Regions from separate parts of the Homo sapiens genome. Here all the other regions are linked to region 1. The links are contacts of gene promoters, found by promoter capture Hi-C in blood cells and fetal thymus (Javierre and others, 2016). All regions are on one chromosome and are shown on one strand. The core of a region is centred on a gene start or on the middle of the fragment in contact, and the rest is flanking DNA. Distances in the headings are between cores, read along the strand shown.

The links. Contacts are between HindIII fragments. The CHiCAGO score rates a contact against its expected background, and 5 or more counts as called.
Region 2: a contact is called between a fragment that was not itself captured here and the fragment with the promoter of SOWAHB in region 1, in 1 of 17 cell types (M1 macrophages). The highest score is 6.6, in M1 macrophages.
Region 3: a contact is called between a fragment that was not itself captured here and the fragment with the promoter of SOWAHB in region 1, in 3 of 17 cell types (megakaryocytes, endothelial precursors and M2 macrophages). The highest score is 6.3, in megakaryocytes.
Region 4: a contact is called between a fragment that was not itself captured here and the fragment with the promoter of SOWAHB in region 1, in 2 of 17 cell types (M2 macrophages and endothelial precursors). The highest score is 6.4, in M2 macrophages.
Region 5: a contact is called between a fragment that was not itself captured here and the fragment with the promoter of SOWAHB in region 1, in 2 of 17 cell types (M1 macrophages and M2 macrophages). The highest score is 5.6, in M1 macrophages.
Region 6: a fragment that was not itself captured here is called in contact with the fragment with the promoter of SOWAHB in region 1 in 1 of 17 cell types (activated CD4 T cells); the score reaches 5.6 in activated CD4 T cells.

What each region holds. Positions count from the first base shown.
Region 1 is chr4:76,895,669-76,900,568 of GRCh38, reverse strand. SOWAHB (sosondowah ankyrin repeat domain family member B) reads left to right here and starts at 2,425. Exons shown (of 1, transcript NM_001029870.3): 1 at 2,425-4,900. The coding sequence starts at 2,720. RefSeq lists silencers at 2,265-2,334, 2,405-2,704, 2,965-3,074. The HindIII fragment of the contact is 5,905 bases long and covers 1-4,530 here.
Region 2 is chr4:76,446,006-76,450,905 of GRCh38, reverse strand. The region is part of intron 1 of SHROOM3 (shroom family member 3); the gene reads right to left. Among named protein-coding and RNA genes, the nearest start is that of SHROOM3, 13 kb to the right of the region's middle. The HindIII fragment of the contact is 2,133 bases long and covers 1,374-3,506 here.
Region 3 is chr4:76,489,081-76,493,980 of GRCh38, reverse strand. The region is part of intron 1 of SHROOM3 (shroom family member 3); the gene reads right to left. Among named protein-coding and RNA genes, the nearest start is that of SHROOM3, 56 kb to the right of the region's middle. The HindIII fragment of the contact is 1,115 bases long and covers 1,440-2,554 here.
Region 4 is chr4:76,515,510-76,520,409 of GRCh38, reverse strand. All of the region lies in intron 1 of SHROOM3 (shroom family member 3), which reads right to left. Among named protein-coding and RNA genes, the nearest start is that of MIR4450, 56 kb to the left of the region's middle. The HindIII fragment of the contact is 936 bases long and covers 2,575-3,510 here.
Region 5 is chr4:76,536,708-76,541,607 of GRCh38, reverse strand. All of the region lies in intron 1 of SHROOM3 (shroom family member 3), which reads right to left. Among named protein-coding and RNA genes, the nearest start is that of MIR4450, 34 kb to the left of the region's middle. The HindIII fragment of the contact is 1,427 bases long and covers 1,144-2,570 here.
Region 6 is chr4:77,205,053-77,209,952 of GRCh38, reverse strand. No RefSeq gene overlaps it. Among named protein-coding and RNA genes, the nearest start is that of CCNG2, 50 kb to the right of the region's middle. The HindIII fragment of the contact is 1,618 bases long and covers 2,207-3,824 here.

The DNA of each region.
Region 1 (4,900 bases), core at 1,176-3,675:
ACCGCGCCCAGCCCCAAAGTTAGCTCTTACTGGAAAATTGTCCTGATCCCCCAAGCTGAGCCTGAGTTCTTCCTTTATGCACCTCCCCTCAACTTCACCAGTATGTGGTGCATGTCTCTGTTAAATCACTTAGCACTCAGGTTCATGCCATTTCTCTTGTTGCTCCTTACTAAATAGAGAGAAATAGTGAATTCTCAAGTACACTTTCTTCTTTATACCCATTTCCAACAGTGTCAGGGTAATGTAGGAGCTTCATAAATATTTTTGGAAATAATGAACTGTATATGTGGGAGGCAGGAAAATTCTCCCTGAGATAATGTAAAGAGCTTTCCAATTAACCACCTCTTTATCCTGGGACAAGAGAGAGAGAGAGGAGAAGGTCTGGACACCAAAGTACCTGGGAATCCAGAAATCTAAAGCAATCAGATTTTTTTTTCTTCTTTTTGGCTCCAATCCTATTAATTCCACCCTCAACTAAAAATGATCTGATTTCAACAAACAGATGCTTTATAATCTCCCCTCACCTGGCCCTCCACTTTCTTTCACTCTAGTCTTTTTATTTCCTTTGAGTCGAAACCTCAGTCCATATTATGGCTCTCTTTTGCAGTTAGCCCCTTATTTTGTAACCAGATGTTTTAAAAAGTAGCAAAGAGGGATTCTTTCCACTTGCCATTCTAAAATGCCCACTTGAGTCTTTCATTTGGTGTTCCTCCTGCCTTAGGTATGGACTCACCTTACTCAGTCCCAACAAGACTCTATACCAGCAAATAAACTCAAAAGAAAGCTGAAATTTAATACAAAACCTTAATTTTAAAAACTATCCTAAAGGCTTGATGTTATGTAGAGACATCAGTGAAAACCACTATCCCTCTCTCAACCCAGTATTGGGTTTGGATCCTAGAAAATGCCAAAAATAGACAAAAATGTTTCCAGTTCTTTTTTTCTGACCTAGATAATGTAAAACCAAAGATTCATTCCTGGAAAAGTGCTAGGGTATTTTTGGGGATTTAAAATCAAGCTCAGTTAATGTGGTCTATAGGGCAGTCACTAAGATTGGTCCATGCTAAAACATGTCTTTGTCAACAATTGTAGGGCCAACACACATACTTTCAATACTCTTTCTTGGCGAGAAGTATAGGAACTATGAGTAATCAGAAATAGAAGAGCAAAAGGAAAAGTGAAAAGATGAGAAGAGTCCATGAGAAAAGAGAGGCAAATTACAGGGAAGGAGAAAATCGAGGTTTTTGAATGGGAAATACAGTGGACATGAGAGGATCTGAGAAACAGACATATTTCCTGTCAGTAGAGGCCGAAGGTAAACAAGGATGTCGTGTAACAGAAAGAAATGGGAAGGCCAAGTTAAAGAAAAGAATGAGAGAAGGCTTGGAACTAAAACAGGTAAAGAGATAATGACAGTGAAAACTATCTCAGGCATGTCAACAGGACTGATAAGGAACAGTGAGGGACATCCAGGATCTCACATCAAAGACAGAAGGGTCAACATGTGGAGAGAGAAAAAGGAAGAGGGATCCCAGCTGTTAGGGGGAAAAGGTGCTGTTAAAGACAGCTCTAGTCTGCATTTTGAACCTTACATTCTGAAAGGAAGCACTTCACCAAGCCAATACAAAACACTGTACAAATCTCTGCTGTTCACAAATTTTAGAGTAAATAAAAGCAAACTAATGCTACACATCAAATACCTTAACTGGCGAGACATAATTCCTAGTTCATTTTAGCCGCCGGGGGCAAGAAGCTATCAAAGTGATTTTTTTTTTCCAGCACCTTAATGTGAGACAAGTATGAAGGAAAGACAAGTATGAAAGAAAAAGTCCCAAACCAATATTGCCCAGTAGTAATTTTCAGAGTGATTTCTCTTTTCAGTATAGACTTGGATGTATTCGGACCCCTTGGAGGGGGCGCCGGAGAAGCGGCCCAGAAAGTATTTCTATATTAAGAAAAATTTAGTTTGGATGCAAAGTGAGTTTTGCGGACCTCAATACAGCCTCGAGAAATCTGAAGTACTCCTCTACAGCGTTAATAAAGAAAGATAACTCAGATTGCCTGTTAACTTGCAGCTTCTCCTCCTCCCCCATCGGCTTCAGCCTGAACTCATCAAAGCACCGGAGGACAGGAACGGACCTTCTATCGCTTTTGTTTCCTGCGTGGCGGAGACTTAGAGGAACGGCCGGTCGCCTACCTGCCTTCCACTTCCCCGGCCGCAGAGCAGTTCGCTGCCGGCTCGGTTCGCCGCCAACCTCACCTACCGGCTGGCTCTCCGGCCTGACTCTTCTGGGATGGGTGGCAGGGGGTGGGGGAGACCTCAGGGGGCGGAGGGACACGAGGAGGCGGGCCTGACCCTTCCCCCAGAGGCAGGGAGGAGGTGCCGCCAGGGCGCAGGTGAAACCGACTCGGCCCTATCCCGGGAACTTTCGCTGTGAGGACTCGTTGCGAGAGGCTAGAGTCGCGCAGGGGCGGCCTCGGAGCCGCCCTCTCTCACGCAGACTGCCGCGGGGACTCAGCCTTGGGGCCACCCGGAGGGGACCCACGGCCCTCCTGGCGCGCTCACGGGCTGCGGGCAGCGCTGGCCTCCGCGGCTGATGGGGGCGGCTAGTGCCGCCCCGGGCGCAGGTGACACTCGCCCGGCCAGGGTTTCCTCTGGCTGGGGAGAGCCCCGGGAGGGCGAGACTCAGACACCTCTGGGGCGGAGGACAAGGCAGCGATGGCCCGAGAGCTGAGCCAGGAGGCACTACTGGACTTTCTGTGCCAGGCTGGGGGCCGCGTGACCAACGCTGCCTTGCTGAGCCACTTCAAGAGCTTTCTCCGAGACCCCGACGCGTCCCCCAGCCAGCACCAGCACCGCCGCGAGCTCTTCAAGGGCTTCGTCAACTCGGTCGCCGCAGTGCGCCAGGACCCCGACGGCACCAAGTACGTGGTGCTCAAGAGGAGATACAGGGACCTTTTGGGGGAGGAGGGGCTGCAGCGACCCCGCGAGCCGCCCGCGGCCGCCCCCAGTGCAGGGGGAGCTGCGCCCTGCTCCCCGCGAGGCGCGCGCCGGGGGGAGCCGCCCCAGCAGCAGCCCAGGCGGCGGCGGCGCGAGAAGGAGCCGGAGGAGGAGCCAGCAGGTGCAGCAGCCAGAGCCGCCGACGCAGCTTGCAATGGACTCCCGGGCAGCGACTCCCGTAGGGCGCCCGGGAAGGGCGGCGGATCGAAGGGCAGTCCCGGACAGAGGCCGCCGGTGCCCGCAGCTGCAGCGGCAGGGGCCCAGGCGAGAGCGAGCTGCGCGGCGGCGAAGACGCAGGGCCGCTGCTGCTGGGAATGCCTCCAGAACAACCTGGCTGTACTGCCGGGAGAGCTCGGCGCACTCCCGCACTCGGCCACCGCGGAGGAGAAGCCGGCACGGGCTCTGCCTGCCCAGGATGACCGCGGGGCTTCCAGGGAGCGGGAAGAAGGCGCGCTAGCTGAGCCGGCGCCTGTGCCTGCAGTGGCTCACTCGCCTCCCGCCACCGTCGAGGCTGCGACAAGCAGGGCTTCCCCGCCTGCTCTCCTGCCCGGCCCCGCTCCCCGCGGAGACCGGCCGGAGCTGCTGACCCCCAGCTCCCTGCATTATTCGACCCTGCAGCAGCAGCAGCAGCGCACTCGAGAGTGGGTGGCCAGGCACCCGCAGGTGCCCGAGGCCCGTGATCAGGGCCCTATCCGCGCCTGGTCGGTGCTGCCAGACAACTTCCTCCAGCTGCCCTTGGAACCCGGCTCCACGGAGCCTAATTCAGAGCCGCCAGACCCCTGTCTTTCCTCGCACTCTCTCTTTCCTGTTGTTCCGGATGAGTCCTGGGAATCCTGGGCGGGGAACCCTTCATTGACTGTCTTTCGCAGCATTCGTTGTCAGCTGTCCCTCCAAGATCTGGATGACTTTGTGGACCAGGAGAGTGATGGCAGTGAGGAGAGCAGCAGTGGGCCCAAAGACTCCCCGGGGGCTTCTGAAGAGGGGCTGCAGGTTGTCTTGGGAACCCCAGATAGGGGGAAGCTCAGGAATCCAGCTGGGGGCCTTTCTGTATCTCGGAAGGAGGGCAGCCCCAGCCGGAGCCCTCAGGGTCTCAGAAACAGAGGGGATGGTCACATCTCTCAGCAGGTCCCTGCAGGGGCTAATGGCCTTGCAGGCCACCCCCTGAAGCCTTTGCCTTGGCCAGTTCCTAAGTTAAGGAGGTCCCTCAGGAGGAGCTCTCTGGCAGGGAGAGCCAAATTGTCCTCCTCTGATGAGGAGTACCTCGATGAGGGCTTGCTGAAAAGAAGTCGGCGCCCACCTCGATCCAGGAAGCCCTCCAAGGCAGGAACGGCACCCAGCCCAAGGGTTGATGCAGGTTTATCACTAAAACTTGCAGAGGTTAAGGCTGTTGTGGCCGAGCGGGGTTGGCGACACAGCCTGTGGGTCCCCAGTGGGGAGGGGTCTGCAGCCTTGGCCCCCCACAGAACTTCTGAGCACAAATCATCCCTGGTTCCACTAGATGCCAGGGAGCATGAGTGGATTGTGAAGCTTGCCAGTGGCTCCTGGATTCAGGTGTGGACTTTGTTCTGGGAGGACCCTCAACTGGCCTTGCACAAAGACTTTTTGACTGGGTACACTGCGTTGCACTGGATAGCCAAACATGGTGACCTCAGGGCCCTTCAGGACTTGGTGTCTGGAGCAAAGAAGGCAGGGATTGTCCTTGATGTAAACGTGAGGTCCAGTTGTGGATATACCCCGCTGCACCTTGCAGCCATTCACGGCCACCAGGGGGTCATCAAATTGCTAGTGCAAAGGTTGGCTTCTCGGGTAAATGTCAGGGACAGCAGTGGGAAGAAGCCATGGCAGTATCTAACCAGTAATACCTCTGGGGAAATATGGCAGCTGTTGGGAGCTCCTCGG
Region 2 (4,900 bases), core at 1,191-3,690, 450 kb after region 1:
TATAATTTCTGTCTTTTTTTGTTCTTCTAATTTTTGTTACCAGAATAGAAGTAGTGTTTTTCTTTATGATTCATTGATTTTTACTATATTTACAGAGTTGGCAACTATCTACTTTCAGAACACCTAGTTTCAGAACATTTCCATTATTTCAAAAAGAAACCTTGTACCCATTTATAGTCACTCTCTATTCCTATCCATAGCCTTAGGCAATCTTTCATCTACTTTCTGTCCCTTTAGAATTGCCTTTTCTGGGTATCTCATATATGTGGAGTTAAATATGTTCCTTTGTGTCTGGTGTCTTTCACTGAGCATAATATTTTCAAAGTTCATACATGTTGTAACTCAGTTCCTTCTTATTGCCAAATAGTATTCCATTATATGGCTATACCACATTTTGTTTATTCAGTTGATGGGCATTTGGATTTTTTCTATTTATGAAAAATTGTGAACAATGAGGCTATGAACATTTGAGTATGAGTCTCTGTACAGATATATGTTTTTATTTCTGCTGGGTATATACTTCAGAGTAGAACTGTTGGGTGATATGGTAACTCTATGTTTAATATTTTAAGAAATGGCCATCTGTTTCTCCAAAGTGGCTGCACCATTTTACATTCCCACTTGCAATGTATGAAAAAGTATACTTTTAATCTCTCTGAAATGACAGCATAATAGGACAAACCAAGCAATTTTGACAAAAAAGAAAGCATATTTTTCTCTGCTTGGGAGATGGAAGGAGAGGAGATGATTTTCTTCTGTGCTGCTTTTTGAATCTCTTATTTCCTGTTCCACAGCCTCCCTGGAGCTAGAGCAGGCATGAATGTGTTCGGCAATCAATGGAGTTAAAACGAACACTAAGTTGCCAAGGCCTCCCTCATTATGATGAAATACCCCTCCCTGTGCTCACACACACATACAAGCTCAATTTTTAAAACCACTTGTTAATTCTTAATACAAAGAGTAAAACACTTATCTTCCTCACCTTCTATTTTTTAATAGAGCATATGTTTCTCTATTATTCACAGTTCAGACTGCTACAAAAATGCTTTAACTAAAAGAAGGAACAATGCCTTTCACATTATTATATTCAAATATGAATTTAGAAAAGAGAGGACTGGAAGCATATTTAGTTTCTCTTTAACTGCCAATTTCATATAACTGACAACATGAATTATATGACACAAAATCTATTCATTATTCTATCCATTCAAGATCAAGCTGAGGTTTAAAGCAGACTAATGGCTGTCACGTGAAGCTACTGTTTGTCAGTCTTCAGTGAACTCAAGCAAAAAACAAGGAAATTGGAAATGGACAACATAGTGAGTCAAAGAATATTCACATTGTGGGGAAGCAGCCCCTGAAGAAAAGAAGCTTCTTGTGTGGAATTTGGCAGAGGTACAAGTTATTCAAGGAAACGCATGTTAGTGTTAAAAAGTTATTCTGTTATTTCAAGGGCAGGGTAGGTCGGAAACTGTGTCATATTCTATTGCCTGCTTAGGTGTAAAACTTCACACCATTACCACATTATATTGTCAAATATTCTGGACTTAAAAAAACAGTTATGTATCCACTTTTCTTTTTAGTCTATGTTGTAGTATAAGTTGAGTAAGAAAAGAAGCAATATAAATAAAATTCTAGAAAAGAATTTCTCTCCTCAGAGATCCCCAAATGAATAATTTTCTCTATCTATTCTGTTCAAGGGGGTCACATTTTCCTTAACCCTTAACCTATAGAACAAAAGAGAACCTATAGAACAAGAGAGTGGATCCTACTCTCAGACGGGAGGGAGAAAATCTTGATTTCATTCAGAGATGCTTGATTCATTCAGAGAAATGAAGTGATGATAAAAGCAGAATGAGACTTTTCAGTCAATTCTGTGGAGAAAAGAGAAAACACACCCATCCCATGAGAGGGTGAAGACCGAAAGAGAGAACTACAAAATATCCTGTCTAGGGATGGATTTCCACTTTCCTTAGTACCCAAGAAAAGATTAAGTGTAAGATTCTATGGGATTCCTTCCGCTTGAATTCCATAGTACAGTGCAATGCTCCAAAGATCACAGATTTTGGAAACAGATAGATCTACATTAGTCTTTAGGGTCTGGCTATCCCTTAGTAAGCATTCTCTAAATGGTGGTCATCTTAGTTTGGATTTCCTCAGAAACAGACCCTGAGACAAGACTTCAAATGCAAGTAGTTTACCTGGGGGTAAAGAAAGCTGACAAGGAAGTGGGAACATGAGGTAGAAAAGGGAAGGCAGCTGACATAGATGTTTGATCAAGCCAGCTACAACTGTGGGCAACTGGAGTTGGATTCTGAAGAAATTCTAGGTGCTAGTGGAAAACATACACCTTAGAGTCATCCCATCTGAGAGATGAAAGAACTAAGCTGCTTACGTACCAACTCCAGTTGGTCATGGAGGGTTGCTCTTGGTGTCATTACTGTGGCAAAGGGCTTCCAAGCAAAGAATTGCAGATGCTGACAGCTGGAAGTCCAGCCAATGCACACAGAAATGAAGGTGAGGAAATGTGGACGGGTCAGTTGCAGTGGTATAAGAAGAAAAAACGAGAACATGCTCCTTTAGGGTGCAGTGACCTCATCTTCTGTTGTTTCCCAGTGCTGTCAGATTTTAGGCACTCAATAAATGATGTGTTGACTAAATATGATAACTAATGAATGAAATGAGTTAGCTTTAAATCTTGGCTCCATCTTTTATGAAAAACCTCTTTCCTCATATATAAAAACAAATCTCATTCCACAAAATAATAAATAAAAGAATCTAACATAGTACCTGACCCACAGCAGACTGACACATATAAATAATGCTCTATAAATAATTTTATTTATTTAAATATAAATAATGTATTTTTTTCTTTTTTATACCATGGAATCCTCCTCTGTTTATTTTGCCTTCTCTGTTAAAGAAGCAAGGTGGCAGTAGTACTTTGCAGGGCCTGAGTTCAGAAATTTGCAATATGTGTTGGCCCAGTGGAGGGGGTCTACACCAACTGTCCTTCTTAAAGGTCAAATTTATTGACTTACATATGTAGGGGAAACTGTGATAGTAATGCTTTCAAGGGAGTGCCAACAACTGATTTAATTGTAGACTTTGAGCCAAGAGCAACACCATGCAACTATGAATGTAGTCCTAAAGAATAACACTCATTCTCTTAACCTTCCTCCTGCTGCCTTACACTTAGATCAATGGCTGCCTTGTTTTTGCCCTGCTACTCACTAGCTGATACTCAAAAGTAAAAATATAAAAAATAAACAAAAGCAAAAGCAAAGCATGAGAGAAAAGAGTCTATTTTCTGCCTTCTCATTCTCAAAAGTTTGCACACTCTCCTATTCTTTTAATTGTCTATCTCAACGCCCAACATGTATATTTATTTCTGGAATGCAGCCAGATCCTGGGTCTGAATTCCAGAAGCTCATTTCCCAGTTTCCATGAGACAAGGCCTCAAAAATGTGAACCTCTCAGAGGACACATGCAAGATGATAAAAGCTTACATTGTACCCACACAACTTCTTTCATTAAAAATTTTAACTTTTCAAAGGAAAAGAGAAAGGCAATTGATTCTAGAGTCCAATTTTTCTTCTTACCTTCTAGCAAATGTGTGGCTCAGGATACACTTTAATATACAAAGTGCTAAGCACTTTGACTAACCTGAAGAATGCTTATTTCCACTTAAATTGCCTGGGTTTTGACTTCAAATTCATGTCACAATGATTTTTAAATTTTGAGATCTTTAGAATACTAGGATCTGTCTGTACCAGGTTTCCAGGAACCAAGAATGAGTGAGAGATGAGGCCAATTGAACCAAGACCCTAGCAGGTAGCAATGGCTTTGAGGGTAACAACTGTACGTGAAGTTCCCAGGATCGTGCCAAGAGAGTGTACTATTAGGAAAGCCGGCGAGTAGGCCTTGCAGGGAAAGTGAATGCTAGTGACCATCATGAAACCAGAGCAGACAGATTGAGCGTGGACACAGCCAACTCAGCAGTAGATGAAGCTGGATGAGCACAGCAGATGTACTACATTTTGAACTAAGCAAGGGCTAGAAAGGGACAACCAAAATGAGATAAAGTTTGGTGTAAAGAGCACTCCTTCATAAAAGACCATCAGTTGTGGTGCCCAGCTCATAACCGGGGCTCATCAGCATGTCGGGAGGCATGAACCTCATGTGCCCCAGCAGATCATTGTTCTATCAGTTTGCAACTTATGTCTGATTCCCTCTTTTAACTGGTTTCAGTCCCTGTTAGCTTTAAACCATCTAATGTTCGTCTAGTATTTCTCCTTGAGTACCAGGCCTTGGGGGTTGAGGTTTTTTCATGGCCTATCCATGTGATGGGATATACCCCACCCAAACAACCAGAGTGGTCAGAGTCTAGCAGAAGTAAAAAGCAGCAGGAAGCAGCACCTGGGAAGATGCAGAGAGCCCAGTTGAACTCCCAGTGTTAATAGAAGTAGATGTGCATCCCCCACCGCCGCCATTTCACCGAGCAGGGCACCTTAAGGATGCCACCAAGTTGACTGACTGTTGCACACAGTTCATGCATTCCACTTTTTTTTTTTTTTTTTACCAGTTTATCAAGATATGGGGTAACATAGATGGAAGGGTTCTTTGGCATCACAAAGTGACAACGCAGTTTTTACTTTGAAAGAAATTTTTCAGGCTGAAAGTTAAAAAGGTCTTAGATGTGTACCTTAGTAGTTTTATGACCTTCAGCAAGAGTCCAGTCTCTCCACCTATAGGACTTCCCAGAGTTTTGCAATGCTTACATGAGCTAGCATGCCTGTTACAGAGCAGGACCTCAGTCAAGTTACTGACAGTACGGTGATAAAAGCAACCCAGGAAGTCTTGTCAATTGAGAGTGAAAAATAACCCAAGAGATCAAGAG
Region 3 (4,900 bases), core at 748-3,247, 410 kb after region 1:
TGAGATGGAGTTTCACTCTTGTTGCCCAAGCTGGAGTGCAGTGGCATAATCTCAGCTCACTGCAACCTCTGCCTTCCGGTTTCAAACGATTCTCCTGCCTCAGTCTCCTGAGTAGCTGGGATTACAGGTGGCCACCACCATGCCCGGCTAATTTTTGTATTTTTAGTAGAGACAGGCTTTCACCATGTTGGCCAGGCTGGTCTCGAACTCCTGACCTTGTGATCCGCCCACCTTGGCCTCCCAAAATGTTGGGATTACAGGCATGAGCCACCACACCCGGCCAATATTTTCACTTTACGTTAAAGCTAATTAAGGTTTATAAAAGCAAAGTGGGTAGAGGAGATACTTAAGAATGCGTGAGGAAGAAAGGAGGGAGGGTTCTCGTCCTAGCCAGGCTCCTAATATGTATCTTAGTCCCTTCACTCCCCTCACCTTTAGCCGAACCTACTCAGCCCCTCCCAGGACACCATATCTATCAAGACCTAAGAATCCTCTGCAGCTCCTCTTTGCTTATTTTGAGCAATTTAGGCTCAGGCCATTACCATCAATTATTCCTCTCAGAATCAGGGTTGCCAGAGTTAGCCAATACAAATACAGGACTCCCAGCTAAATTCAAATTTCAACTAGACAATGAATAATGTTTTAGTATAAATATACCACATGCAATGTTTGGGACATACTTATACTAAAAATAAAATCCTTGTTTATCTGAAATTCAAATGTAACTAGGCATTTTTTTTTTTTTTTTTTTTTTTTGAGATGGAGTTTCACTCCTGTTGCTGCCCAGGCTGGAGTGCAGTGGCACGATCTTGGCTCACTGCAACCGCCGCCTCTCGAGTTCAAGCAATTCTCCTGCCTCAGCCTCCCGAGTAGCTGAGATTACAGACACCCACCACCATGGCCAGCTAATTTTTGTATTTTTAGTAGAGATGGGGTTTCACCATGCTGGTCAGGTTGGTGTCGAACTCCTGACCTCAGGTGATTCACCCACCTTGGCCTCCCAAAGTGCTAGGATTATAGACGTGAGCCACCGTGCCCAACTGCATCATCTTTTATCTAGCATCTCCACCCAGAATCCCACGATCAAAACCAAATTTTGTTGAGATTACTCCTCTAGCAAGAGGCTTCTTTGCCTGCTCTCTGTCTGCAGGAGTGTTTTCTCAGAGAGGAGCATAGGGAAGACCCCCAGCCCAATACCATGTAGAATATGAGAATCTGTGTCTTACCATAGAAAGTCTAAGTTCACGTGTATAGGATCTCATGCATGATTTATTCAAACATTTTTATCAACAACAATGGGAGCTCAGAAAAGTTAAACAATTTTCCCTGAGTGGCAGTTATTAATGCGGAGTCAGGACTAGAATCTATGTAGCATAGGGTTTTTTTTCCTTATCATGAGAATTTATCATAAACTTTATATGTATATAATACCCCAAGCTTCAGGAATCAGATGGTGAAGTTGGTACTAAATTCTAAAATAATTTTGTAAACTTAAAAAGGATAAAATGACCGAAAAGAAGAACATGACAAAGAAAGTTGGCTTTTGTGAAATCTAGTTTGTAATGTACCTTTTGAATCTCATTTTGAAATTCTGCAATCAATTACTTTTCAATCAACCAGTCATTCAGCCCTTCAGAACAGCATACTTGCTCTGATTCAAAAGCTCCACAAAGCAGGCTAATTCTCATTAGTGCACATCCATCACTGAGCTAAACATGCCTTCCTGGCAGCAGACACCAGCAAATGTCAAGGAAGGTGGGAAGAAGCAAATGAAAAGAGCAGCAGTTCTGAAAACGGAAAATACTTCTTTCGCCCAGTTTGTATCTAGGGGCTATGGGAATGTTTAATTTACTAATGGGCCCCGTTGTCATTTGAGAAGCACATTGCACTATTGAAACCTAACAGAGGCTCTCACCTAGCAGCAAAGCGGGCCTAAGATCTGGGCCAGGCTGTTCGGCCTTTACAGACTTTTGTTAAAAAGCCCTCATTTTCTAGAAATGGTATCCAAAGTGCATTCTCTCTCTCTCTTTCTGGAACTCTTACTATTTTGGAGGCTTCAGTGGGCAATTGTGATGATCATTTCCCACATGGTGTTTTTCCAAAATTAATATCCAAAATAGAAAACACAGCAAAGCTCAGATCAAGGTGATCTGTGACCTGCACAAAGTCTGCATCAATTTGGATGCTCTGGCTGCAAATCACAAAATAACTCATCTAAAAATGGCTTGACCAGGGTTGGGGGGTGCTTTTTTCACATAAGAGAGGCAGACGGTCCTGGTGTTGTTTCAGGGGCTCCCCAGTGTCAGGGCTCTGAGTCAGCTTCCCCTAATTTTCTTGGTCTGTCCCTCAAGACTGCAAAATGGCTGCAGCAGCTCCTCGCATGACATCATGGTATCCTTGCATTTGAAACCCAAAGCAGGAAGAGGTTTTTCTTGCTAGACTTTTTATTATCAGAGAGAAAAATCTTTCCAATAAGTATCCACCTGTGCCTCATGACTGGATCTCAGTCACATGCAAGGGAGTCTAGGAAAGCAAGCATCCAGCGTTTTAAGCTTCTGTGTAGTAAAACAAAGGCTCTGACAATGAAGAAAGAGCTGCCACATTTCCCACTAACCAGTATGCTTTGTGGGGCAGTGCCCTGCCACCAACACAGGCCAAGAAGTCTTTCCAAATTGGCTTAATCTCCTATTTCCCCATTTCTATTCATGGCACAAGCATTCTAACACTACTCTGGAGATCTTGGATTCATCTTTGACTCCCTCCTTTCCCTAATTCCCACATCTGGTCAGTGCCCATGTCTCAAGGATCACCCATTCCTTCTCAGGGAGTCTTCCATCTTGCCTCTCCTTTTGACTCTAATTGAGCATATTAATTCAGACTCTTATCACTTCACAGTCAGACCACAGTTCAAAAGTTGCCAAACCATCCTGCCTTCCAGCAGCGATACCACTTTTTCGTGACTTTCCTATTGAGAAAACTTTCAAGAATTCCCCCGTTAACCCCAGAAGATATTCCAAAGCCTTATTCCAACCCCAATGGGCTCCAGTGGTTAAGAAAGCTGACTCTGTAGTTAAAAGACTTGTGTAATATGGGCTAGTGACTTCACCCTCCAACACAGTTCTTTCCCACATAAAATGGAGGTGATGCTAGTACAGGGCACACATGGTGTCAATAAGTTGTAATTATTGTTTCTTGCTATTATTTTTATATATAGGCATTCTACATATTAGGGAGAGTAGGTGGGTAACATATATGAGGTGTCTGTCCTCGATTAGCTGATTTCAATTGCTGAAATACAATTCAACTGAGGCAGGAGAATAGGGTCTGGAGGCAGGGAACCTAAGGCTGTTTCACGCCAACTTCCTAGGACTAAATTGAAAGGAAAACCCTAACTTTTCATGCCTAAGTAATAAAAGGACCAGAAGCAGCCGGGTGCGGTGGCTCACACCTGTAATCCCAGCACTTTGACAGGCCGAGACAGGCAGATCACGAGGTCAGGAGATTGAGACCATCCTGGCTAACATGGTGAAAACTCCCGTCTCTACTAAAAAAAAGAAAAAAAAATACAAAAAGACCAGAAGCTACTCCCTTTGCAAACCCCCTGCCTTTTCTGCATGTCAGATGGGAAACTGGCTGTCCACAACAAATCAGACTGATTGCCGGTCAAGTCTTCATTTGTAATTTTGTAACTCCACTCCAGCCTCTGAATGGTTGCTGTCCACAACCAGTCAGACTGATTGCCGGCTAAGTCTTCCTTTTCATAGAAGTATAACTTTGTAACTTCACTCTAGCCTCTGATTGGTTGCTTTTTGCAACCAACCAGATGTTTGCACAGGAGTGTGACCTTTGTAACTTCACTTCAGCCTCTGGTTGGCTTTCTGTAACCAATCAGACTGATTGCATGCTACCACTTCATTTACATGAAGTGAGCATGAAGTGGCCAATGGGAAACTTCTAGGGAGTATTTGGACCCAAGAAGATTCTATATCCAGGCCCTTGAGCTGCTGCTCAGCCCGCCCCCACACTGTGGAGGGTACTTTCGTTTTCAATAAATCCCTGCTTTTGTTCTTTTGTTGCCTCATTCTTTCTTTGCTTTGCTGGGCGTTTTGTCCAATTCTTTGTTCAAAACACCAAGAACCTGGACAACTTGCAGTTACGACCATCATACCGGTGACACAACTATGTCCCTCTAATCTGCTACTTGATATCCATTTTATAAACGGGTCCTTTGTCTTTTTCTATTGACAAAGGAGAGTCCCAAGTGTAGCACCATTCTTGGCTGTGCTCATTCTTCAAGAAAGCTTCCTCCAAAACCCCAAGGCCTCATTTTGTCATCAGGAAAACCTCGACTTGCTGAGGCCATAAACCCTGGCTCGAGCTTTGACTCACTCTTTCAAAGCACATTATGCTTCCAGAAGCTGTTAACAGTATTTATTTATCTTCCTCTGACATCTGCGCAACTTCAAAAAGCAGAAAGAAAAAAGAAGTGGTGGTCTTTGTTTCATTATGCCATAGTTAAGATTGCATCTGTAATTTTTAAGTAGCAGAGATTAAAGGTCATGCCAGGGATTAAACAGACACACAAATTACCTTCTTCTCACTCTACTTGGGTCTTGTGACTTAACTTTTACATCTTTAACTTTTAACTGCTCTTAATTTGACTTCTTTGTCAGTTTCTATGAACCAGCCACCATAAAGGACAATATTATATACAGGAGCATTCATTCTGTTAAGAAAAAAAATTGCATATCTTGAAAGATGAGCTAGATCTGTGCCTGTTGACATCTTCTAGCCACAAAGGAATTTCACATGACTGGGCTTCTTTTGCCGTCTGAAATTATTCAAGCAGCAAAGGTCATGACAGTGCCTCAGTTCACCAGTTCATTTTGGCAAAGTGCTG
Region 4 (4,900 bases), core at 1,793-4,292, 380 kb after region 1:
TGGCACATAACATGCACCCAATTATTGTTAATTGTTATTACTAGTGTTGTTATCATCATCATCATCAACAGTTGGTGAAAATAAAGCAAGGGAAGATAACAGAGAGACTTGTTGCGACATGACTGGTCTCTTCAAAGTCTTGAAATGCTGCCAAGAGGCAGAGGGATTAGATGATTTCTCTTTGACCCTGGAAAGAGATATAATATCAAAGAGTATAAATTATAGGAATTCAAATTTGGGCTTAATGTACAGGGGACATCATTTTAATGGTCAGAGTTATCTGAAGATCAAAGGCTTGCTTTGAATGGGAGGTGTCCCTGATTACTGGAGTATTCAGTTCCACTCTGGATAATATTTTGGGTTGTAAGGATTAGCTGGACAATGGAATTAGATGACCTAAAAGAAGCTAGTCTTGTGTGTCTATAATCAAATACATCCATTAAAGCATCAAGCAGAATTTCAAGAAATGATTAAAACACAAGAAGCTCAACACAAAATCTTCCGTTACAATATTGTCACACCTCACACCTCACAAATCCACTCATTAGTTGTCCTGATCATTTCCACCCAATTCTCATAAATAGGAAAGATTCAGTAAAGAGATTTCATTCTGAATAATACACCCAGATGCACATACAAAAAGCCTAAAAGGCACCGTGTTTTATGGATGTTTAAATTCTAAAATTCATCAGTGTATACAGTGAAAATCACATATAGTCAAGACTGTCCTGAAAAATCTTCTAGGAAGGCACTATTTTGGCACCTGCCTCTTCATAAGCCCAGCACAGTTTCCCTCCAGCACTGGAACGGCCCTCTACTTTTCTGGTTCAGTACTAGATAAAGGAAAAGATGTTTGTTCTGGGGGGAAATGAGACCAACTGCGATTCATTATCTTCCTGATTCTTGCTTTAGGACATATACTCAGTGAGTAGACTATCAGGCTGAATTGATTGCATAATTTATATTGTTATTTTTCTATTTTGTCTATTTCTTCTGCTTTTTTCTGTTTACCAAAATTTACAGAATTGATTGAAGTCACTGAAGTTAAATGCACCCTCTGAACATTTAGGAGTAAACTGGGGCCTCTTGGTCAGCAAATGCTATCTTTTGGTCCATAGTTTCTATGACTACTCCCTGACCCCTAGAGATGCACTTTGTTTATCCAGCACCCTCCTTTCTAGGAAAGGCATCCCTCCTTTAAGGGAATAGCCCTCCCGTCTACAGTCAGTGATTCTAAGGTTTTCCCAACCATAGTGTTTCACTGGCCACCCAGGTGGGCATGTGGCCTAAGCCTAACCAACCAGAAGCCTTTGCTGGGATTTCTTCACTTACAACCAGAGAGTAGCTCTCAGTTCTCTTCCAAGGGCAAGGCTATGCCGCATCTTGAGGCTTCACCAGCTGTGTACCCAGACTGTGGTGTGAATGAAGAAAACAAGCAGAGAGAGGCAGTGTTAGGAGAAGGAGACTCCTAGCTCCATTCTTGTTCCACTTCCAGTGATCTCTAGGGTATGTAATCTCTATGCCCTTGCGCTTTTTGTACTGGTTCAATAAATATCTTCTTTTTGCTTCATTGAGTTTACATCGCTTGCAATAAAAAGAATTTTAATACAGCCCTCAAGAGTTTGCTTCCCTGACCTGTATCAGTATTTATGTTTTCTAGGCAAATGAGAGAGTACACAGGAACAGGCTTGGGTGCCTGGCCCCAGATGTGTTACAGTACTCATTTAGAAATATGTTAGATAAGCTCCGTAGAACCCTACCAAATGTGAACAGCCATTTTTGATTCTTTGAAATCATTCAGATTATTTAACACAGGCAGGCAGGCAGGCAGGCAAGCAGGCAAGAAGGAAGGAAGGAAGGAAGAAGGTAGGAAGGAAGGAAGGTAGGAAGGAAGGAAAGAAGGAAGGAAGGAAGGCAGGCAGGCAGACAGGCAAAAAGGAAGGAGGGGGGAGGGGAAAGAAAATGAAATAAAACCCTGTCCATTAATGAGAACACTCTGTTTTTGCCTCTGTCTTTCAAAGACATGGGGAAAATGATCTCATTCAACCACAACAAAGATTTATGGAGTGCATATTAGGTGCCAGATGCTGATATGGAGTGGAGGACACTACGAATGAATAAATGTAGTCCCTGCTCTTGGGGGGTTAAATGCCTAAAGAATTATAGAGGTTTGAACCTCCCCAAAATGTCTGTCTTTCCCCCTATTTATCAGAAGTTGAGATAATTTGATATTTTATATGATTCTTAAGAGTCAAGCTCTCACCCTCCACTAGGAATACACACACACATACACACACACAACCAAAATAATCATCTTGCAATTTCTGAGGGTTGACAGATATTTCCTTATAACTTAAATAAATCTCTCATTTTAAAAGCTGTCCCTCTGGACTAAAAAAAATCTGATTTAGAAACTTTACCACAGTCAATTCATATCATTTACTTTGTAAGGAAAAAGTCTTCATGTTCCTCTTCTATATGCAGCCCTTGCTCTGCTGCAGCCGCAATATCCCGGTGAGGCTACCGGGAGGTCATTCAATCCACTTCCTTTCCACGGGGAATGGCTGGGAAGCTTTGGTTAAATGAGTGGTCCAAGGTCACATGGTAACAAATTCTGGCCCAGAGTCCTAATCTGAAAACCCTAGTCTTTTCCTCTCTCTGCTAGCATACACAGGCCCTCATTGGTCTGAGAATTAGCAGAACAGAACCCATATTGTTGAAGAAATTTTCAAATAATCAGCCACTGACTACAGCCCTAACATCCCCTTTATATATATATATATATATACCAAACAAACAAACAAAAACCCTAAGCAACTCAATCAGGAGAAATTCTTTTTAAGTTTCATTTACATGGATAAGAATCCTAAATCTTACCTATCTAGCACATCATGTCAAAAAACTACAAGTTAACCAAGCAAGAATTCTGTGAAACTACCTGGTCAGACCAGCAGAGCTGAGAACAGTGCCCTGGGCATGCAGGGTTAGGGATGTTCTGTATTTGGGATGCCCTGTACTTGCGATGCAGTGTTACCACCTGGGATAGGGAGGAAGTGAGCCTTTTTTAGACACTGTATCTTTGATAGTCCAGGTGATTTGCCTACACCCATCCAATGCCAACTGCATGTAAACTGGGGTGACTTGTTAGTTCCTGGATGACAAGGGTATGACCCAAGATGGGCAGACACACGGACTCTTTCTCACCAGGGCCTCTGGCAGACATTTTCCATGTATCAAAGCTCAAAGCAAAGTTCTTTTACAGCAAAGAAGACCAAGCAGTTGTCACTGAGAAGAAACCTGATTGCTCTCCTTGCAATGATCCTTTCAGCACTAAATATCTAATCCCATTGTAAGACTGAGAAAGTCACCAAGTGTGTTGTATTGCAGCAGGAAATCTATTTGAAGACAGTTTTAATAACAAGATAAATAGAAGTTCCAAAGGGTAGGAAAGGATTTCCTTAAGTGAGAACATAAATAACTCATCATTAAAATCTGGGTATGATGGAAGCTTGGCTGAAAGCAAGACTCTGGATTGGCTAGCTCAGAGGGAGTTCTCAAACCTCCCTGTAAAACTTTTTCACAGATTTCCTGTTCATGAGACTTGGGGTGGGATTGGAGGTAGCAGCTATAATTTATGAAAGGATCCAGGATCAGAAACTTAGAAAATCAGATCTGGAGACCCAACTTAAGTGTAGTTATTGGCTAGACTGTCCTCAGGGACTGCCCTGGTGATGTACACCAGGACTTTGTGTTTCTGTAATGTGCTTATTGCATAATATCTATTAGCTGGTGATTTTGGTTCCTTTTTTTTTTCTAAATCATGCTCCTGTTTTCATATATTATGAGCAAAGTGCTGTTATCTGAGAGTATCAGCTGACTCAGACCATTCAGTTCAGGGATTCCTCTAGGCTCCTGAGTAGGGGCTTAGATAGGGCAAATTCTGATGGTCTTACAAGGGAACCCCAGTCCTTCATGTCATAAGAGCATCTCTGCCTATAGCTTCATCTGATCTCAACACAGAGAACTAATAAGGTAGGGACATGGCATGATTTGGACTTCAGGAATATTACTTTCCTAGTTGGAAGGATGGATAATAGGAGCAATATTACAGTCTAGAAAACATGTTACAAAGATATTGCAATTGACCAGGCTAGAGAGAAAGAGGAACTGAACAGGAGAAATGACGGAGAAGAGATATACATTTGAGTAATAGTAGGAGGTAAAGTCAGTATCCTTGGTCATTCACTAACCATAGTGGGTGAAGGAGCAGAAAGACTCTGTGGTGACTTCAAAGAAGGATCACAACCCACTTTCCCTCTCGGTCTACTGCTAGTTTCACACACTAACCTGACTCCCAATCTCTCTCATTATCTTTGTGTTATTATGAAGTATCATTTCTGGTTATCAGACATGGCTTCCCATGTAATCATTTCCCATGCCAGGCCCTGTGTCAACAGTTGAGCTTTCTACCCACCTGGAGTTTGAGAACAGATCAAGACCAGCTTATGCCTAATATCTCAAATTAATTATTTACCTCATAAAGTAGTACCAGGCAAGTGAGACTGATAAGTCTGTCCTAGCTTAGAAGAAAGACCACCTACATGACTTCTCAACATGACTTTAAATAATAAAATTAAATTTGGCAATGGGAAGTCTACACCCAGACAAGTCTCGGCTTGAGTTTATATGGTTTTTAGACGTAAAATCCAACTCTGGTCACTGACTGATACTGCAAACCCAGAAACATTAACCAAGAAATATTTCATATCCTCTGCTCTATTGGAATAAAACCCAAGCCACTGAGGAGTTTAAGGGCAAAGGACAATTCGAAAACCTGGAAGCAATGGTCAATGTGCTCATTAGAAGTTCTAAAGGAAATAATAATAATAACAATAACATT
Region 5 (4,900 bases), core at 608-3,107, 360 kb after region 1:
CCGGCCTTCTCAGAAAGTGCAGTGCGACTTTTTTCCCTCTTATGAATTCCCCAAGCCCCTGCCGTTATTGTATGCCTCAGCCCAGTGAACTCTACTCAGCTTCAAAGAGGGGATGGACCAGGGCCATTCAGAGAGCAAGAGGCCAAGGCTAGCTGGCCCCCAGCCATGCCTCAATCCCCTTTTTCTGCTGCATTCAGATCAAAGACTGAGGCATTCATTTATATTTTATTTAATTTTAAAAATTTTCTTTAAATTTAAAGGAATTTATGTATATTTTACCTAATTCTTTAAATAATTTCAGCCATCTTAGCACGTTTATTCCATGTTCTTAAGAAAGACCCTTTGAATTGCTCCAGTTGGTTTATGTTTAAGTCATAATCTTTTCATTCCTTAGACTGAAATTCTGCTGTATTTATTCATGGAAACATAATATGTATATGCAATATGCATATCTGTGTAGAACATCTATTATAACGTACATATAGGGGATGTATATGTAAAACGTTTTACAAATAAGGAAAAGAGAACTTCTTTTCAGTAACTACATCAGTGGAGAGACTGAGTCTTTAGAAAATAAATAAGTCAACAAATTGTATATGTATTTCATGCATTTTACAAGTATATAAGGTAAGTCCACTTTTTATTGCCAATTCAAATAGAATAGGGCTCACAGGGCAATAGTTAAATATACATATAGGCACACACATGCCCTATCTCATTTTAGCTAATAATTTTCAACTCTTTCTTCATCAGATTCATATCAAAGTTATTAACATACTAAAATAGTTAGGCTTTAGTTTTCTCTTCTCTTTTTTTCCCTACTCCTGGTCTGGGAGAAATTCTAGTGGTTAGAAACTAAATCAGTGCCAGCAAGAAGAAAAATAACAAATCTCTTGATATTTTAAATATTTGATCATCTACTCCTGATGAAATGCTTTAACTATGAGATTTCTAGCACTTAGTAAATAATCCACAATGTGACTGACTAGATAGTTTCACTGTTCTAAGATAAGTTTCATGAGTGTCCAATGGTTCGATCTTAGGCCAGATATTCTTCCGCTTCCAAAGAAAAAAATCTACTTGTTCATTATGAGATTGATTTTGACCTCATGAATTATTTGTTTCCTAAAGTTTTCCAAAGCTTCCCCTACGTGTTTAGACTTATGATATTGAGAAAGTTTATGATTTTTTAGTACTGGCTTTAATATTAGAACTTGGCTTGCAACAAGCAGAACTAAAATAGGACAAGGGTGGCAATTATTGCTACTATCTCAGAGGGATTGTCTTGTTTGTCTCAGCAAAAGAATTCTCAAGGGTGGCTGAGCTAGAAGGAAACAGGGTAATAAAACTCATGCAGGAGGTATGGAATGCCTCCCTCCTGCTGAAGATAACAATAGTGTTCTATTAGTGACCACAGTGAGCTACCAACATTTTCCATCTCCATCAGATTCCAGAGGCCAGGCCGGGTGCTGTGGCTCACGCCTGTAATCCCAGCATTTTGGGAGTCTGAAGTGGGTGGATCACCTCAGGTCAGGAGTTCAAGACCAGCCAGGCCAACATGGCGAAACCCTGTCTCAGCTAAAAATACGAAAATTAGCCGGGCATGGTGCCGCACCCCTGTAATACCAGCTACTTGGAAGGCTGAGGCAGAAGAATGGCTTGAACCCGGAAGATGGAAGTTGCAGTGAGCTGAGATTGAACCACTGCACTCCAGCCTGGGTGAAAGAGCGAAACTCCATCTCAGAGGCCAGAAAGATACCTGAGCAGTAACTGGTAAAAGGATTTCTTCACTTGCAACCCCCACACAATTTGTTTACTTGTCTTACATTAGAGGCCATATATTGGTTAAGTTTTGTAACCAGACTGCCTGGGTTCAAATCTGGCCCCCATGCTTAGAAGTTATGTGACCTTCAACACATTATTTGACCTCTCTGTGCCTGTTTCCCTTCCTGTGAGATAAAGTTAATAATACCTATTTCATAGAATTGCTGCGAGGATTAAGTTAGTTAATGGATGTAAAACATTTAGAAAAATGATATTTAATAAATGCCCAATAAATGTTAGCTACTTTCAGTATCTTATATTCTCTTCCATAAATTAGGAATACTAATGCCTCACTTATATACCTCACAGTATTAAAGAGTAAGATTAGAAACATTTTATAAAACACCTTGAGAAGCATAACATGGCACACTAAAGTAAACAATCAGAGTGACTCTATGCCAATCTGGAAGTTGGCTTGATAATTTCAACCATCCCTAGAGGAAGGCTTCTGATCAGAACCCAGACCCTGGACATGATAGAAGCTAGAAATAAAATAGCAGAAGCAACATTAACATAAAGGTGAAGGAAGGAAAACAAGGGAAAGGAAAGAGAACTAACATCTCTGGTTGTGCCTACTATCTGTTTGGAGTTTGACACACACATGTTATTTAATTCTCACCAATATTTATGAGGTAAATATTTTGTAGATAAGAAACTAAGACTCAGCAATATTAAGTTTCCCGAAGTTATGAAGTTATAAATAGCAGAGCTAAGATTTAAACCCAGATCTGTCCAAAGGCAAAGCTTATCACAACTTCTTCCATCTAATTCTAAAACAGGCAGCTCCCTACAGCCTAAGAAACATAAAGCCATATACTATATTAGTGTAACTAAACAATGATGGCCAATATGATGACAGTGATCAAGGAAAGGCTGCATACTGATCAGAACAGCCCTCCACTATACTAGTGGGTAATAGGTCCTTGGGGAACTCATTGAAAGGAGATTATTATAACAGAATCTGGGATTCTGGCCATCAAAAGCCAGCTCCACCATGTTTGGGAGCATCTGCAGATATGGCCAAATGAGTAGATAATGGTGTCCCCAAAAGAACAAATACATGTTGCATGAATGAATTAATTAATAAAGGAAAAGTAGAGTAGGCCCTTAATACTTGAAGTTTTTTTTAAGTCCTTCACCAATATTCAAATTTCAGAACATTTTTTCTACCCACACCCAGTTGGAACATCCTGCTATCAGATTCCTACCTGCCATGCTTCCTTGTTGTAGTCATCTGCAAACTCTCAGGTCACTCCTGACTTGGTGAAGATTTTCCCCCCAGCTCACTGTCAGACCTCTCACCAACATGACTTTTGCCACCATTCTTAGTGACACCCATATCCTCACAGATGTCCTTCCAGTACTTGGGCCTCTGTCTTCCTTGACTCCTCCTCCAAGCCATCTTGGCTACTCAACTTCCATGGTCAGACTCTAGCTCTTGTTATTGCCAATGTGGAAATCTTCCCTAATCTCAATTTTAAGCATCTCAGTCTCTGACCACCTCCTCCTTTTCTTTTTTTCCAACAGCTTTATTGAGATGTAATTTACATACCATAAAGTTTCCCCTTTTAAAATGTACAATTCAGGCTGGTTGCAGTGGCTCACGCCTGTAATCCCAGCACTTTGGGAGGCTCAGGCGGGCAGATCACCTGAGGTCAAGAGTTCGAGACCAGCCTGGTGAAACCCTGGCTCTACTAAAAATATGAAAATTAGCTGGGAGTGGTGGTGCATGCCTGTAATCCCAACTACTCAGGAGGCTGAGGCAGGAAAATTGCTTGAATCTAGGAGGCAGAGGTTGCAGTGAGCAGAGATCATGCCACTGCACTCCAGCCTGGGCAACAGAGGGAGACTCCGTCTCAAAAATAAAATAAGATAAAATGTACAATTAAATGGTTTTTAGTATATTCACAGAGTTGTAGAACCATCACCATAATCACCTTTAGAATATTCAATTTATCATGCCCTAAAAAAACACTACTGACTTGGGGTGGAGCAAGGCGGCAGAATAGAAGGCTCCACCCATCATCCCCCAATGCCCCCTGTGAGGGCACCAATTTAACAACTACCTACACTAAAAAGCACCTTCATAAACACCAAAAATCTTAAAGGGATCTCTCTCACATTATATATTGAACCCATCAGCAAAGCCTAAATTGCTCTACCTTTTCTAATGACTTCTCATGACCTACACTGCTACTGACCTACTCTGACCTCCTGCCTGGGTTATTTAGTGGGATCCTAACTGGTGTCCCTGTTCTGCCTATGTGTCCCTCTCCTCCTCATTCCACATCCTTGCCCTATAACATATTCTCAACATAGCAGTCAGGAGAATCATTTCAAAACACATCACTCCTCAGTTTAGAACCATCTAGCAGCTCCCCAACCCACTTAGAGTAAAAGCTCAAGTACTTTTACTGGCCTTCAAGGCCCTAGGCAATCATACACTCTGCCCCTCTGGATCTCCTAGACCTCTTCTCCTACCATACTTCCTTGGGATTGGTCTACTTCAGCCACCCTGGCTTCCTTGAGATTTTCTGAAATGTCCATGTACACATCTACTGTGTGGTCTTTGCACTTGATGAGCTCTTTCTTTGAAATACCTCCCTCTCAGTAGCTACATGGCTCACTTCCTTTTCTCTTTCATGTTGCTTGCATTATTATTATTATTTTTGAGATGGAGTCTCGCTCTGTCACCCAGGCTGGAGTACAGTGGTGCGATCTCGGCTCACTGCAACTTCTGGCTCTCGGGTTCAAGTGATTCTCCTGCCTCAGCCTCCCGAGTAGCTGGGATTACAGGCTCCTGCCACCACACCTGGGTAATTTTTGTATTTTTAGTACAGATGGGGTTTCACCATGTTTGCCAGGCTGGTCTCAAACTCCTGACCTCAGGTGATCTGCCCACCTCAGCCTCCCAAAGTGCTGGGATTACAGGTGTGAGCCATCACGCCCAGCCTTGCCTGCATTATTTATAAGTTCAGCAAAGGCTGTTTCCATCAGATACACAGAAAATCAGAGAAAATTGCTGGAGCTGGATAGGAAGGAGTTAAAATAAGAGAGAGAAGTGAAAAGAAAAAGG
Region 6 (4,900 bases), core at 1,766-4,265, 310 kb before region 1:
AAGATGTGGAGAAAGGAGTAAAACCAGAAATTCACCAACAAAACTCAAGGGAAAGGAGTCAGAAGGAAGGGATTGGAGGGAGAGAAAGATCCCAGGGCTAGAGATCAGAGGCCTACATACATGTTTAAGGACATTTGGGAGGATAAAGATTAAATCCAAGTAGGACATGGTGCAGATAGTTAGCACCAGCCATCTGAGGCAGTGTTTCAGACAGGGACAATCTTGCCCCACCCACCACCCCGCAGCACATTTGGTAATGTCCGTAGCCATTTTCGGCTGTCAGCAGGGAAACGGATGCTACTGGTAGCTAGCAGGTAGAGACCATGGATGCTGCTAAACATTCCACAATACACAGAACAGACCATCCCCCACCAAGAATTTTCCAGCCCAAAATGTCAATATCCAGCCTCAAATTTCAGACTGAGGAAATGGTAAGTTTTTGGCTGGGTCATTCAAATGGATATTAAGGTAGTCAAGGATAGCAGGATCTCAGGGCAGAGGATCCTTTTAAGGTGCCTTGATCTTCATCTCATCTCCAGGCCATTTTACTATGTTGACCAACAGTAGAAATAGTTCTTAGTAGCAAAAGCCTCAGTAAGAAAGCTCATAGTGTTTAAAACTAGGTTGAGTAAACTTCAGAACAATTTTTGGAGAGTCTAAGACTACTAAGCTCCTCTCCCAGCTCTAACAAATAACAGCCTTGTGAAGAGTTTCACAAGCGATATGCTTAGGTTTTAGTGACTCAAGTAATCTTGACAGTTGAAGAGGGTAGCTGGAGAAGCTGACTGGAGTTCTAGAGGCACAGCAGAAGGGAAATAGAAGTCAGTATAGGTGTACAGGACAGAACACTGGAGGCATATTAGGGTACCAGCCAAGCCTGTCAGTTGCAAATCCTGTTATGGTCAGTTACCTCCAAGTTCTAGGGGAACTCTAGGATTATGTTGTACTACGTAACTATGACATGGTACTCGAGTCTGAGGTGGCTATGAAGCTACAGGTGAGATCGGTATAGTTTTAGAAGTTCTACAGCTTATGTGCACCTGCTCAGATGTTCAACCTCACCTCTCCGTAGGCACTCCAACCACTTGCTCAGACACATTGGAGCTATTTTCTTTCTAAGTGCCTGCATGGTTTCAACTGGAGACCTCCCAAACCTGTGTGCAGTCCCTAGTTCTTCCTTCCATTGTAGGAGGAAGCACCACACCCTGACAGCTTCTGAAGGGTTCCATGTTACCAGTAGTTGAACATGGGTCACTCACCCCAAAGGACACACCAGGGCAAGCACCAACCCAAAGCAGGGGCTCCATGGCCCTCAGTGCATTAAGCATGAATTATTTAAATTCCCTTAGTTTGGAAGGGATGATGCAGATGCCTGGAAGCATCTAGTGCCAAAATTAACGTCCTGGAGAAACGCAGTTTGAGTTTTCTTCATGAGGAGCAGGGCACCATACAAGGGGTACATCCTGAGAATGTTGTCCATACCTTGAGAAGTGCCATGGTTCTAAAACCATCTAGTGAGCTTACTGATCCTTAAGTTCAGGAGAAAAGCATACCTGTAGTAGTTGCAGGTTGCAGCATAAAGGTGCCCTACTGCTTGGGCTAGGTGATCTAACATGGTGCTGGAAGTAATTGTGATGCATGAAGATGCCACATGACACCTCTGGAAAATCCAAACATAAAACCCTAGGTTTCTACTGCAAGGCACGATCTATGACAGAACTATTCTGCATTTGAGAAATAGGCCATGACTTAAAACTATTAGACCCCAGGGGAGACTGAGTCCTGAACATTTCGCACCAAGTAATATCCCAAACTGGAGCTCCCCATCATAAGCTAGGTTTATACCAGATCTAAATCCTAAGGTTAGGTAGGACAGTAACAACTCACTTTTCCCCTCCCAGATTTGTTCTTCTATTGTATCCTCTATTAGTGGCACTACCACACAGCAGTGCCCATACCAGAAGCCTGGAAGCTGATCATGTCTATTACTACCCACTCTTATGACACCTATTCCAATCCCCAAAGTCAGTTTTCCTACTTGAGATGTTGCTATGTTGAACATACCAGTCTGACCATGTTACTGTCTTGTATAACACTACGCAGTGTCTTCCCTGACCCATTAGGTAAGTGCTGACACTCTTGTAAGAATCTGCTCCCCTCCCTCAGCTTGGTACTGGCAAAACCAAGCTGCAAGTTTTCTTAAGCTTTGTTCCATGTATACGGACGATGCTTTTTCTAGACTTCCCCTTTCACAGAGCAGCAGTAAGGTTTACTTTATGCTTTCATTCCCTGACCCTACCTCCCATTACCAACTTTGGGAACACCTTTAGGGTTAACCAGATTGTTATTGCCACACTGAAGTTACTCAGATACAGTTCTACCTTCCGGTGCTCCCAGAAGCAGGGGTTCTCATGTCAAGACCTTGAGATATAGCTGGAGGACCTGGTTAGCTGAGCAGACAAGGGTTCTTAGCAAGTCTCCCTCTGCAGACATCCATGTTAATATACACTGAACTAAAGAATTCGTGAACCATCGGGCATAGCAACTGAGTTGACATTGCCATCTAGACACCCAGAGCATTATGGCCACAAGTTAAAGTACACACACACAGGAGTTACAACTATCTTCCATTTGAGAAATAGATTGCAGCTTTAAATTATACCCTAGTACAGACTGAGGAAATGGAGTTCTTGCAGATGTTTGGCTGACAGTTGGTCCACTAGGTCCGAAGACCCACCCAGAAATATTTCCCCTGAGTACACAATTGAAATTGATGTGCTTGTCATTTGAATAAATCCCTACGTTGGGTCCCTAGCCATGTGAAGTAACAGCATCACAGCAGGGCCAGTTAGAAACTTCTGAAACTGTCCCTACCCCAGCCAAGATATTAAGTCACAAGTATTGCACCCCTGTAGGGGATGGTCAACATTAGTGCCATGCTTAAGTATCAAGCAAATATGGTTGGTGGTCCTTATCTGTTCAATTCTGCATTCTAGCCCATGACGAAATTAGATACTAGAGGATAATTAAAGCACTACAAGTTCAACCAAGTGTCTGGCCTGGTTCCCAACGGGTCGGGTTCCACAAGCAGTATACCTGGTCAGCTACTTTGTATCACAAAGGGCCCAAGATGAGAATGCACATATACATAGGTGGTTCAATGGCATCACTTTCCAGTCAGCAGCCTGGAACAAAGGACTGAACGGTCAGAGACAAGATTTGGGTAGAGGAATGTGGATGGACATAGTAAGGCTATGTATGAAGTGTGGAGCTGTGTGTCTCACATTAACACCCACCAGGAAGGGTCCATCTTGGAAAAGGTACTGAACTTACTTGACCTGGCTGAGACTATTGCAGACCCATATTGCAGGGCAGGGGCTCTACCTGTTCTTCCCTTCCCTGGTTCCTTGCACAGGTGTTACACCTGTAAGACCTGAAGATTCTCCCTTGCTGCTCCTATTCCAACTCCCTTCCACCCCCCACCCCAAGTATTACCCCCACTGAGTCTCTTGCACTTAACTACAAAGGATCCAAACTGACACCATAGAAGTTGTTCTTCCTACCCCTGCTAGTATTGATTGCCTTTAAATGCATTCCCCAGGCCTACATTCAGCACTCCCCTAACCACAGGCCGAGATGCAGAATCTAATCCAAGGCAGACTCATCCATATACCTTGGAAACCCCCCCCAAAATTATGCTCAGGGTCAGAATTGACAAAGTTGGCCAAAATTCCCTAGATCCTACTGGTAAAGGGTTGCCTTCTATTTAAGATTGGAGCTGAGCAAGAATCCAGCCACAGCCCCATAGTCAAATTCACAAAGCTTCCTGAAATTTACCTGTGTTTAAGAGCTCCTCTAACCCTGTGCTGGGAAGTTCCTCTCACCCCTCAAAATGTTTGCTACTTCTTCCGGGAAAGCAGTGAGAGACTTCCAACTATCTGTTATCTTGCCACTCTAATTTCTCCTCCCCAGACTTCACCACAGAGGTATTGCTAGAAGCAGTTCATTTCTTCCCTTAGTGTAACCCACCCAATCTGACATTCCCACCAAACGAAATGAAGACCTTAGAGAAAGTCTTTCCTTCAAGCAATCCCTAGTTTGGACTCAGTACATCTAGACAAATGACTTCAGTATTGTATGGGAAAGCTGTGAACACCATCTGCAATTCTCACTGTGAAACCTGAAGATGCTTAATGTCCCAGGACCTTCTCATTAGACCAAAATTATAGACACTCATCTGTCTCAGGAAGTCAGGACCATTGTGTGCCAAACTAGCATGTGTGGGAGGAGAGGCTTACCTAGAGATTCTATCAAACAGCTTCTGAGACCCCACTGCCCAAGACACTCACTTCCATACGGAGCAGGACCTGGCCGAGTTCCACGTTTGTCTTGCCCTGATAGTGGTACTCCTCTCCGTGGCGGGGTAGGGGAGGAGGGGGCGGCTGGGGGCGGGGGGAGTCTGATCCTGTTGCTCCTAATGCCACACTTTCAGGGAACCTAGAAAGCCTTTGAAGACCCTCAGACTGGCCTGTACCTTTTACATGCCAGTGTGGAGCCCTGGATATGAGGCCATCAGCAATATGCAGGTAGTGTGCCACAGCAAGACTGCCATAGAAATTCAGGGCTTAAGTGTCTGAGGTACCATTCACCTCACTTTCCCCATGGGGTTCTGAAAGTAATTGGGAACTACACCTGAAATCAAGATCAGACAAGCTTTGTTTCACTGAATCAGAGGACCAAAGCTGGAAGTGGGCCCCCGAACTAGGCTGAGCAAGTCTTCTACCATTGAGTAACGTAAGCCCACTCAGTGAGCAATCCTTCCATATACATTCATGAAGTAAAACAAGTACCATAAAACTCATGAGGGCAGTTCTCTCTAGAAGGGTTAACTACATATGTG